Regions from separate parts of the Homo sapiens genome. Here all the other regions are linked to region 2. Evidence: promoter capture Hi-C in human tissues and cell types (Jung and others, 2019). All regions are on one chromosome and are shown on one strand. Each heading gives the region's core, a stretch centred on a gene start or on the middle of the fragment in contact. The rest is flanking DNA. Distances are from core to core; before and after follow the strand shown. Region 1 overlaps KASH5 (KASH domain containing 5). Region 2 holds the start of SNRNP70 (small nuclear ribonucleoprotein U1 subunit 70). Region 3 holds the start of LOC124904737 (a long non-coding RNA gene). Region 4 holds the start of FLT3LG (fms related receptor tyrosine kinase 3 ligand).

Region 1 (2,700 bases), core at 169-2,668, 320 kb after region 2:
CTTCTCTGTGCCTCAGTTGCCTCACCTATAAAGATGAACAAAACAATGGCATCTGCCTCAGTGGTTTGTGTGAGACTTCAACCGAAGGATACTTGCAAAGTCTTGGGCACAAGGTAGGACACATAGGATGTGCTCACTAAAAGTTATCTAGCATTGTTTCTATATTAGTATTTTTTACAGTGAATAAAACAGCCAGGCACAGTGGCTCATGCCTGGAATCCCAGCACTTCGGGAGGCCTAGCTGGGTGGACCCCTTTAGCCTAGGAGTTCGAGACCATCCCGGGCAACATGGCAAAACCTTGCCTCTACAAAAAATAGAAAAATAAGCCAGGCATGGTAGTGTGCACCTGTAGTCCAGCCACTCAGGAGGCTGAGGTGGAAAGACTGCACGAGCCCGGGAGACAGAGGTTGCAGTGAGCCAAGATTGCATCATGGCATTCCAGCCTGGATGACAGAGCGAGAGCCTCTCAAAAAAAAAAAAAAAAAAAAAATTGGATTTGAAGTCAACCTTGAGTTCAAATCCCATCTCCGCCACTTACACAATAGGCAACCTTTAAGCATGTGACTTCTCCTTCTCAAGCCTTTACTTTTAGTTTCTTTTTTTTTTTTTTCTTTTTTTTTTTTTTGAGACAGAGTTTCATTCTTGTTGCCCAGGCTGGAGTGGAATGGCGCGATCTTACCTCATGGCAACCACCGTCTCCCGGTTCAAGTGATTCTTCTGCCTCAGCCTCCCAAGTAGCTGGGATTACAGGCATGTGCCACCACACCTGGCTAATTTTGTTTTTTTGTTGGTTGGTTGGTTTGTTTGTTTTAGTAGAGACGGGGTTTTTCCATGTTGGTCAGGCTGGTCTCAAACTCCCGACCTCAGGTGATCTGCCCACCTCAGCCTCCCAAAATGCTGGGATTACAGACATGAGCCACCACACCTGACCTACTTTTATTTTCAAAGAACTGGAAGAAGGGTATCTGTTCAGTAGGCTTGTTTTGAGGATTGACAGCATTTCACTGAGGGACTAGCAAACAATATGAAGAGACTGAGTTCAGCTTCACATTTAATTCAAGCCCCGTTCCATCCAAGACAGAAAAACATCATCTTAGTTCATTCTGGGCCCACCTAATTTTTTTTAGATTGAAACAAACTCATCAATTGACAATGAAACCTGTCACCACCCCCGACCTCAAGGTGGTATCTAAGTTGCAGGAGACTGATGCAGGAGCCTAGTGCTCTAGGAGGCTGCTGATCCTCACTCAATGTTTCTCCTCTCTGCTGTTCATGAGATTGATGGGTTTTGTCCAAGCGTTTGTCACCACTGTGTGCTGGCATCTACTGTGAGGCCCGCATTGCCTTTGGATCTCTGGACATACCATCTTCTTCATCTTCTGGTGGTGATCCCTTATCTGGGCTGGGACTCTTACTCCACCACTTCCACACCCTTCCAGAGCCAGGGAGGTGATTTGGCTACTTTCCTGTGAAAGGGAAGAGGCTGGGGTCACTGCCCAAAGCCCCTGCCTCATTTCCCCAGGCCAGGGTGGGTGCTCATGGTGGGGAGATGTGGCTTCTCTGGGGAAAGAGAAACAGGAGAGAGATTCCTCTGTTCTCCCTGAGCTGTTAGCAAAGTCCCTGTCCGTCACTCATTTCCCTGAAGGATCCCAAACCCCACCCAGGCCTTGACAGACTGGAGGACACAGGGCTGGGGTGGGCAGAGGTCTGGAGAGGACCCACCAGTGAGGCCTCTTTGCTTTCACAAGAAAGTAGCATCTCTATTATTCTCACACCGTGATGATTCTGAGAGTGCTCTGGGAAGTACACGCAAGGCCTCTCAGATCACAAGACTTCCAGGGCTCTGCGGTTCTCCATCCATACCCTCCACCCCTCATAGCTAGCCCTGGGTTAGGGGAAAACTCTGGGCTCATTTTCAGCCTATTCTCTTCTCTGTCTGTCCTGCATTCCTCCCCCAGCTCTAAGGATCTCTGCCTAGTCCAGACAGATCATGTATTCCCAAAAAATATCTTTGTCCTACATGTGCAGTGTTTTTTACACTGAAATCCAAAATCTTTCTGCTATTTTCTGGCTCTTCCATGAAAACTCACCCCCTTGGGGCAATGGGAATCTCACAGCAGGATGGCTGTACCATGTGAGACATGGAATGCAGCAGGATGTGACAGTTTCTTTCAGAACATCCCTTTTTAAGAATGAAAAAGTTGCCAGGCGCAGTGGCTCACGCCTGTAATCCCAGCACTTTGGGAGGCCGAGGTGGGTGGATCACCTGAGATCAGGAGTTCGAGACCAGCCTGGCCAACACGGTGAAGCCCCATCTCTACTAAAAATAAAAAAATCAGCCGGGTGTGGTGGCACACACCTGTAATCCCAGCTACTCGGGAGGCTGAGGCAGGAGAATCGCTTGAACCCAGGAGGCAGAGGTTGCAGTGAGCCAAGATGGTACCAGTGTACTCCAGTCTGGGCGACAGAGCAAGACTCAGTCTCAAAAAAAAAAGGAAAAGAAAAACTTTCCGGCTGGGCATGGTGGCTCACACCTGTAATCCCAACACTTTGGGAGGCCAAAGCAAGATTGCCTAGGCCAGGAGTTCGAGACCAACCTAGGCAACATAGTGAGAGCCCGTCTCTATAAAACAAAAAAAAACAAAAAAAGTAAATAAAAGAATGAAAGGCCAGGCACAGTGGCTCACGCTTGTAATCCC
Region 2 (2,700 bases), core at 151-2,650:
TGCCACCATGCCCAGCTAATTTTGTATTTTTAGTAGAGACGGGGTTTCTCCATGTTGATCAGTCTGGTCTCGAACTATTGACCTCAGGTGATCTGCCCGCCTTGGCCTCCCAAAGTGCTGGGATTACAGGCGTGAGCACTGCACTCGGCCTTTTTCTTGAAACATAAAATTAGTCATTTTAATTTGCAATAATTTCTGTAGTTATTAAACAGGCTATTGAATCCATCCACAAAACTTAAGATACAATACTTAAGAACAGGGCTCTAAATAACAAGTGCCAGCTCTCTGATCTCATGGCCAACAACCTGAGATTCCTGCCATCTGGTCTCAGTTCAGGACCTTTGCACTTACTGTTAAACACCGCCCCCCCGGCCCCACCCCAGATCTCGCTTCTATCTGTCCTTTATTCAAATGTTACCTCTTCAGAGGGGCCTTCCATTATCACCCTTTCTAAAACAGCCTCGCTCTCACTTCCCATCCCTTTATTCTGCTCCATCGTTCTTCATTATGCTGGCCACTATCTCAAATTATCTTTTATTATTTATTTATTTATTTACTTTTGAGACGGAGTCGCTCTGTCGCCCAGGCTGGAGTGCAATGGCACGACCTCGGCTCACTGCAACCTCCGCCTCCCGAGTTCAAGCGATTCTCCCGCCTCAGCCTCCAGAGTAACCGGGCTTACAGGCGCGCACGGCCACGCCCGGCTAATTTTTGTATTTTTAGTAGAGACGGGCTTTCACCATGTTGGTCAGGTTGGTCTCACACTCCTGACCTCAGGTGATCTGCCCGCCTCAGCCTCCCAAAAGTTCTGGGATTACAGGCGTGATCCACCGCGCCTGGCCTCAAATTATCTTTATTCAGTTAAATGCTTTTATTGTCTCTCCCAGTACAATGTAAGCCCTAGCAGCAGAAGACTTTGCTTTAATCACGTGCTGTACCCCCAAAGCCCAGACAGTGCCTAGCACACACGAGATGCTCGATGAATAGTTATTGATTGAATAGATTAGACATCAACGCAATCAGGCTGTTCACCTAGGGACTCTTTGCTAGGCGGCGGAGAGGTACGTTACAGTTCTCTACGCAAAACGCATGCGCGAAAGATCCGGGAAGTGTGATCGGAAAGGGGCGGAGCATCAGGGAGAGTCTCGCGGACATAGGCGGTTCGGCGCGGAAAGCGGGAGGTGGAGGGGCGGCTTGGGGCAAGCGCGCGCGCGCAGTGCAGAAGCCAGCCCCCCGCGGCTGAGGTACTCAAGGTGCCCAAAGGCGGGGTAGTGACCTCGCGCGTGCGCTGTGCCCGCGGCAGCGCCGGGTCCTAGTGTGTGGGTTGTTGTTGGCACCGCACGGCGCGTGCGCAGTGAGGACGGCGGAGGGATTTGCGGCCGGGACCCACCCCCTGCTCCAGTCGCTATCGGAGGCCGCGCGGGTGGCTGAGCAGCGGCCTGGTGCGCTCGCTTAGCGGGCGACGGAATCAGACGGACGTGGACGCCCCCGGAGTGGAAGCCGAAGCAGGAGTTGTTGTTGCTGAGGGGCTGCCGCAGCCGCCGCGAGCCTCCGGACAGACGCCAGAGCGAGGAGGGCGCTACGCGGTGAGTGAGTGTGACTGAGTGGCCCGACGGGGTGCGGGGCCGCTACCCAGAAGCCCCAGCGGTGGGCCCGGTCCTCTTCCCCGCGGCCAGGCCCCTTTCCCGCGTCCCCGCCACAGGTCCCTTCTGCATCCCTTTCCCGGACCCCGAAATCTCTGGGCACCCACGCCCGCTTCCCACAGCGCCCTCGTGGTTCCCTACCCACAGGCCCTTGCGGTGTGTGGCCTTTTTTCTTTTTCGTTTGTCTATGTTGTCCTGGACCCTTACCCATAATTCCTTTCGCTTTTTGCGGGGTCCAGGTCTGTTACCCACAAGCACTTGGTTTTGGGGCTTCGCTCCTTATGTTTCTCTTTCTTTGCTTGGAAACTTCCGATCCCCAGGACCCTGCAAACTGCATCTCGTAATTTGCCCTCCACGGCACGGGACGAGCAGCCACAGCTGCTCTGGGCCTCCCTCCTCGGGTCCTTGATTTCCCCAGAAATTCCCAGGGAACCTCTCCGCCCCACAGCTCGTGTCAGAGGACTCTGAGACTTCACTCTTCAGGAACCCTTTTCCAGCCGTTATTTTTGTTTTCTTTACCGGCCTTTCACCTCCACCCCCACCAAGACGTACCCTTTTCTCCGCAACACAGGACTGTTCTCTGCCCTTACAGAGCCTGTTTTAATTCCGAGACTTTTCTCCTGTCTTTCTTATTTTGAGAGTCAAGGAGTAACAGGGGCTTTCTCTGTGCAGACCCGATCTAACCTAAGGCTGTCCTGCTTCTGCTCTCAGACTTGGCAAGATGACCCAGTTCCTGCCGCCCAACCTTCTGGCCCTCTTTGCCCCCCGTGACCCTATTCCATACCTGCCACCCCTGGAGAAACTGCCACATGAAAAACACCACAATCAACCTTATTGTGGCATTGCGCCGTACATTCGAGAGTTTGAGGTGAGTTCACTGAGCAGGCCAGGAATGGTTTGGGTTCTGGGGAGCAACGGGTTGGATTTGCGAGTCCAGCTTCTGGCCATTTTGCCAGCTGCGTGATTTAAGCGAGGGGCTTAACCTTTGTGATCCTCAGTTTCTCTGTTTTAAATGGGGTTGGAGCCGGGTGTCGGGTGTGGTCGAGTGCGTCTGTAG
Region 3 (2,930 bases), core at 224-2,723, 360 kb before region 2:
GGCCGCAGCTCCACAGACACAGCTTCAGGAGTCAGGGGCACCTCGGGGACCCCCTCAGGGTGGCTTGAAAAAGAGGAAGGAATTTGTGATCCCTGCCCAACCCTCATCATAGTTTACAAACCCCAAGATCTAAGTCTAAGTGGGAGAGCAAGACCAACTCCCATTGCGCAGCTGGAAAAGTTGAGCGCAAGGAGAAGCAGAAACTTGCACTGGGGCATGCATGGGGTGAACACAGAACTAGACGCAAAACCCAACCCCTGCATCCCTCCAGACCACTCTGCTCAGAATTTCTCTTACTTTTCTGGCTGACGGTCTCCAATTTCCTTAATCTTTTCCTGTGGAACAGTAAGATCAGAATCAAGGTGAGGGGGATCCACTGAGGGGCTTAAGAGTTAATACCCTGGTTTTTATAGAAGCACAACTCTCATAGAGACTGGTCCTACTTTTCTTAGAGATGGGGTCTTACTATGTTGCCACCGGTGGTCTCCAACTCCTGAGCTCAAATGATCCTCCCACCTTGGCCTCCCAAAGAACTAGGATTACAGGCATGAGCCACTGCAACCGGCCTTCACTCTTCATACGGATTCTTTTTTTTTTTTTTTTTTTTTGAGATGGAGTTACCCTGTTGTTGCCCAGGCTGGGGTGCAATGGCTCAATTTTGGCTCACTGCAACCTCTGCCTCCCAGGTTCAAGTGATTCTCCTGCCTCAGCCTCCCAAGTAGCTGGGATTACAGGCATGTGCTACCATGCCCGGCTAATTTTTTGCATTTTTAGTAGAGACGGGGTTTCACCATGTTAGCCAGGATGGTCTCGATCTCCCGACTTCAGGTGATCTGCCCGCCTCGGCCTCCCAAAGTGCCGGGATTACAGGCATGAGCCACCACGCCTGGCTCTTGAGACAAATTCTAATCCCACAAGCTTTAGAATGGTCTCTCCTTACTTTTTAAAACATACACACCCTATGATTATGAGTGATCTAGCTCCTTCAGGTCCTCTTCTCCAATTTTTACCCCCAAGAAACTCCTTAAACCTCTCTGGTTAGGCCCTAGCTCAATAGGATGGAACGTTTCCCCCACTCTGAATGGTTTCTTTCTGGAACTTCCATCTGTAGGTCCAGTGGATTTGTGCTTCCTCGCCTCCAAGAATGAACTCGCTCACTGCTATCCAAGCTCCAAGCCCAATGGGCTGCGGTGAATTCTCACACTGATCTCTGTCAACTTCTCATCCAGTGGGATCTCTCCCCCACCATCTCCCATAATGGTTTCTTCCTAAGGTGAGTTCGTGCTTAGGTGAGCTCTCCTAAGGTGAGTTTGGGCTTCCCTCTAAGTGCAGTGGATCTACATCTCCCAGCATTCTATGGGGGGGCCCCTTGCTTAATAACCCCAAAACACCGGGTGTGGTGGCTCACACCTGTAATCCCAGCACTTTGGGAGGCCGAGGCGGGCGAACCACGAGGTCAGGAGTTCCAGACAAGCCTGGCCAATATGGTGAAACCCCGTCTTACTAAAAATACAAAAAATTAGCCGGGCGTGCTGGCAGGCGCCTGCAATCCCAGCTACTCGGGAGGCTGAGGCAGAAGAATCATTTGAACCCCGGAGGTAGAGGTTGCAGTGAACCAAGACCGCCACTGCACTCCAGCCTGGGTAACAGAGCGAGACTCCGTCTCAAAAACAAAAGCAAACAAACAAACAAACAAAACCCAAAACCCCAAATCCTTCCCGAGGCGTCATGGGAACAGTAGTATCCAGCCCAGCTATGAAAAGGGTTGAAGGTAGGGAAGGGAGGCTGGAGAAGGGACTTGGGGCGCTGGTGGGGCTGGACGGCGATTGGGGGGCGCTCACCCAGACGGCCTCCTTGATGAGCCGGGCCAGGCGGCCCAGCAGTCGTGGCAGGTGGCCCAGCTCCAGCTCACGGGCGGAATGCTGCACGCACAGCGCCAGCAGCGTGGCGGGCCCGAGGGGCGGCAGGTCTCCCGAGCCGGCGGCTGCGGCGCGCACGATCTCGCCCAGCAGCGCCTCCTCCTCGCGCGGCCGGAAGCGCAGGACTGGCTCACGGCCGTCCAGGTAGGCGGCCAGTGCCTCGCCGCGCTCCTGCAGGCCGCGGCCGCACAGGCGACAGGAGAAGGCCCAGCCAGGGCCTGGCGGCGTGGCCCCGGGGCGCGCGGGCAGCCACGGCGGCCTCGCAGGCCCCGAGCCCCCAGTGCGGGGGTCCTTGTACATGAACAGGAAGTGCTCGCCCAGCCCCAGGAGGTCGCCCGGGTGCAGCTCAGCCTCCCGCAGCAGGAGGCACCCGTTGTGCGTGACTGGGGCGCCCCGGGACGGGCGCACCATGGCCGGGTGCTCAGGGCCCGCGCGCACTGTGCAGTGACGCGGCAGGATGTCCGGGGCGTTGAGGAAGGTGTCCACATAGGGAGCCGGGGACCCCCCGCGGCCAGACGAGTTCCCACCTCGCCCAAACACGTGCTGCTCTCGCGTCATCACATACACCACAAAGTCCTGGAGGGGAAACGAGGATGCACTAAGGACATCACTTCAATCCATATCTTCAGATCTGTTCTCTCTGTTTTCTACAACAACTTTTCTATTCCCACCAACTTTTTTTTTCCTTCTTCTTCTTTTTTTTTTTTTTTTTTTTTTTGAGATGGAGTCTCGCTCTGTCCTCCAGGCTGGAGTCCAGTGGCACGATCTCGGCTCACTGCAACCTCTGCCTCCTGAGTTCAAGCAATTCTCCTGCCTCAGTCTGTTGAGTAGCTGGGAGTACAGGCGCCTGCCACCACACCCGGCTAATTTTTGTATTTTTAGTAGGGAAAGGGTTTCACCATGTTGGCCAGGCTGGTCTTAAACTCCTGATCTCAGGTGATCCACCTACCTCGGCCTCCCGAAGTGCTGGGATTACAGGCGTGAACTATCGCGCCCGGCCCCCCACCGACT
Region 4 (2,779 bases), core at 74-2,573, 390 kb after region 2:
AGCTAGAGCAGGTCCTTTGTCCATGGGCCACATGAGCTATTGGGGCTTGTATCTCTGCCTCTCTGCTTCATTTAAATCTTTCTAGCCAGATGGAAGGTCTGACCATTGGGTGCGACAAGGCAGCTAACCCAGGCTGAACAGGAAGTGAGGCAGGCAGAGGGATCAGGGAAGGGAAATGGATGATGAAGGCCAGGACGGGCGAGGCTTTGCTGCAGTAACACATAACCCCCGAATCTGCGTGGGCCACAACCACAACATTAGTTTGTTGCTTACACTCCCTGTGCTCATCCGGGGCTGGCAGGATCCCTGTGCTCCTCCGAGTGGCACAGGAAACTTGGCTGATAGAGGCGCTCTCTCCATGCATCCTCCACCATCCACTCCCCGGTCCCTTAGACTTCCATTCAGAAGTGACACCTGTCACCTCCACCCTCATGTGACTGGCCAAAGTGAGTGTGGCCATGTCCGAGTTCCCCAGGATGGGACCTCGAATCCTCCTGCTGGGGGGGTGGGGGCAGCAGATGTTTCAGGACAGTCTGCCACGGATCAGATGGGTGAGCAAGAGATTCAGGATGGGCGTGATGGGTCACACCTGTAATCCCAGCATTTTGGGAGGCCGAGGCAGGCTGATCACCTGAGGTCAGGAGTTCGAGATCAGCCTGGCCAACATAGTGAAACCTCGTCTCTACTAAAAATACAAAAATTAGCCGGGCATGGTGGCACGCACCTGCAATTCCAGCTACTTGGGAGCCTGAGGCACAAGAATTGCTTAAGCCCAGGAGGCGGAGGTTGCCGTGAGCCGAGACTGTGCCACTGCACTCCAGCCTGGGCAACAGAGTGAGACCCCATCTAAAAAAAAAAAATGCTTCAGAGATTCAGAGATCCACAGATGTGGAAGAGAGCTTCTATTTTGTCTCATGTACCACCTCACCCCTCAGTTTGGAGTTGGAGAAGCCGAGGCTTAGAGAGGTCAAGGGGCTGGCCAAGCTCCCACAGTGATAAAGCTAGTGCTAGGGCGACACCTGCCAGGCCCAATGTGACAAGATGCATCCTGAGTCCTGTGTGCCAAGCCTTGGCGGGGCAAAGTTGGGGCCCGGAGGACGGTAAGACACAGCAACTGCGAGTTCCCAGAGACAGATCCGGGTTCCAGCCCCAGCTCACCATGCACTGGGCGTGCCACCCAGGGAGTCAGCCCCACTGCAGCCCCCGCTGCGGGGCGTCCGGAGAACGCGCCATCTGCGGCGTGAGCGGCCGCCTCTCACCACCAGGGGGCGCGCTCCGCCTGGGCCCAGATTCCACCCCTTGACTGTCTCCCCCCAAAAATTTCCTTTCACTTTCGGTCTCTGGCTGTCACCCGGCTTGGCCCCTTCCACACCCAACTGGGGCAAGCCTGGTGCGTGAGGAGACTTGGACTCTAGGTCCCCAAGGGGCGGAGCCAGGGTCCCCACTCCTGGGGCAGGGGGAGCAGAGGGTGGGGGGCTGGGTTCCCGGGTCCCTAACCTGGGGAGGGTTCTGGGGACCAGACGTCGAGGTTCTTAGAAGTGGAGATGAAGAGTTTTCACCGTAACTGGGGCAGACGCAGGAAGCCTGGGGGAGGAAGGGGCGGAAACTCAGCCACATCAATGGGACGCGGGAGGGGCGGGGAGGCAAAGGGGCGGGCAGGGCAGGGGCTGGGGCATGAGGGTCCGAGACTTGTTCTTCTGTCCCTTCCAAGACCCGGCGACAGGAGGCATGAGGGGCCCCCGGCCGAAATGACAGTGCTGGCGCCAGCCTGGAGCCCAACAGTGCGTAAACCCCAGGGACAAGATCAGGGGAGAGGGGAGGCACAATGTCAGGATGGGGCAGAGATGAGGGGAGATGGACGGGAGAACAGATGGACAGATGACGAGGAAATAGGAGGGGAGATGGACAGATGTGAGGGGAGATGGATAGGAGAGGAGACGGACAGAGGAGGGGGAGATGGACAGAGGATGGGGAGATGGACAGAGGAGGGGGAGATAGAGGAGAGGGAGATAGAGAGGAGTGGGAGATGGACAGGAGCGGGGAGATGGACAGAGGAGGGGGAGATGGACAGAGGAGAGGGCAGATGAACAGAGGAGAGGGAGATAAAGAGGAGGGAGGTGGACAGGAGGAGGGAGATGGACAGAGAAGGGGGAGATGGACAGAGGTGGGGGAGATGGACAGGAGGGAAGATGGAGAGGAGGGGGTATGGACAGAGGAGAGGGGAGATGGACAGGAGGGGGAGATGGACAGAGGAGAGGGAGATGAAGAGGAGGGGGAGGTGGACAGGAGGAGGGAGACGGACAGAGGAGAGGAAGAGAGACAGAGGAGGGGGGAGATGGACAGAGGAGGGGGAGATGGACAGAAAAGGGGGGAGATGGACAGAGGAGAGGGAAGGTGGACAGAGCCAAGAACAAATGAAGAGGACGTGGACCAAGATCAAGAGAGAAGCAGGCAACAGTGGTGTAGAAGGCAGAGGGAGGGACAGAGCTGGAGGAACCCGGGCGAGGAAACCAGACGTGAAGATGAGGTGGTTGGAGAGAGACCAGCAGAGTGGGGGAGATGGGGAGAGAGAGGGGTGGGGCAGAGGGGGATGCAAACTGGACAGCATTGGACCAGAGGCAGAGAGAAACCGGGAAAGACAGGCAGAGATGGGGCCATGTCTCCAGAAAGTGTGGAAGAGGCAGAAGGACACCCAGGGAAGGAGGAGCGGGGAAGACAGAACAGTACAGGTGGGAAGCCCGGAGGAGGGGGCTGTGTGTGGAACAGCAGAGGGCTCCCC

Evidence for each region. Contacts are between HindIII fragments. The study calls those that stand out against the background at their distance.
Region 1: a fragment that was not itself captured here is called in contact with the fragment with the promoter of SNRNP70 in region 2 in 2 of the 25 tissues and cell types used here (dorsolateral prefrontal cortex and liver).
Region 3: a fragment that was not itself captured here is called in contact with the fragment with the promoter of SNRNP70 in region 2 in 1 of the 25 tissues and cell types used here (dorsolateral prefrontal cortex).
Region 4: a contact is called between the fragment with the promoter of FLT3LG here and the fragment with the promoter of SNRNP70 in region 2, in 1 of the 25 tissues and cell types used here (adrenal gland).

Annotation. Positions count from the first base shown.
Region 1 is chr19:49,399,757-49,402,456 of GRCh38, forward strand. All of the region lies in intron 9 of KASH5 (KASH domain containing 5), which reads left to right. Among named protein-coding and RNA genes, the nearest start is that of KASH5, 13 kb to the left of the region's middle. The HindIII fragment of the contact is 8,336 bases long and covers 1-2,700 here.
Region 2 is chr19:49,084,051-49,086,750 of GRCh38, forward strand. It overlaps SNRNP70 (small nuclear ribonucleoprotein U1 subunit 70), which reads left to right and starts at 1,401. Exons shown (of 10, transcript NM_003089.6): 1 at 1,401-1,586; 2 at 2,355-2,511. The coding sequence starts at 2,365. RefSeq lists enhancers at 1,077-1,146, 1,497-1,586. The HindIII fragment of the contact is 18,802 bases long and covers 1-2,700 here.
Region 3 is chr19:48,727,096-48,730,025 of GRCh38, forward strand. RASIP1 (Ras interacting protein 1) reads right to left here. Exons shown (of 12, transcript NM_017805.3): 5 at 1,842-2,495; 6 at 298-335; 7 at 1-63. LOC124904737 (a long non-coding RNA gene) reads left to right here and starts at 1,049. Exons shown (of 2, transcript XR_007067286.1): 1 at 1,049-1,273. The HindIII fragment of the contact is 9,581 bases long and covers 1-2,930 here.
Region 4 is chr19:49,472,892-49,475,670 of GRCh38, forward strand. It overlaps FLT3LG (fms related receptor tyrosine kinase 3 ligand), which reads left to right and starts at 1,324. Exons shown (of 9, transcript NM_001459.4): 1 at 1,324-1,390; 2 at 1,712-1,781. The coding sequence starts at 1,749. RefSeq lists a silencer at 1,703-1,782. The HindIII fragment of the contact is 13,748 bases long and covers 1-2,779 here.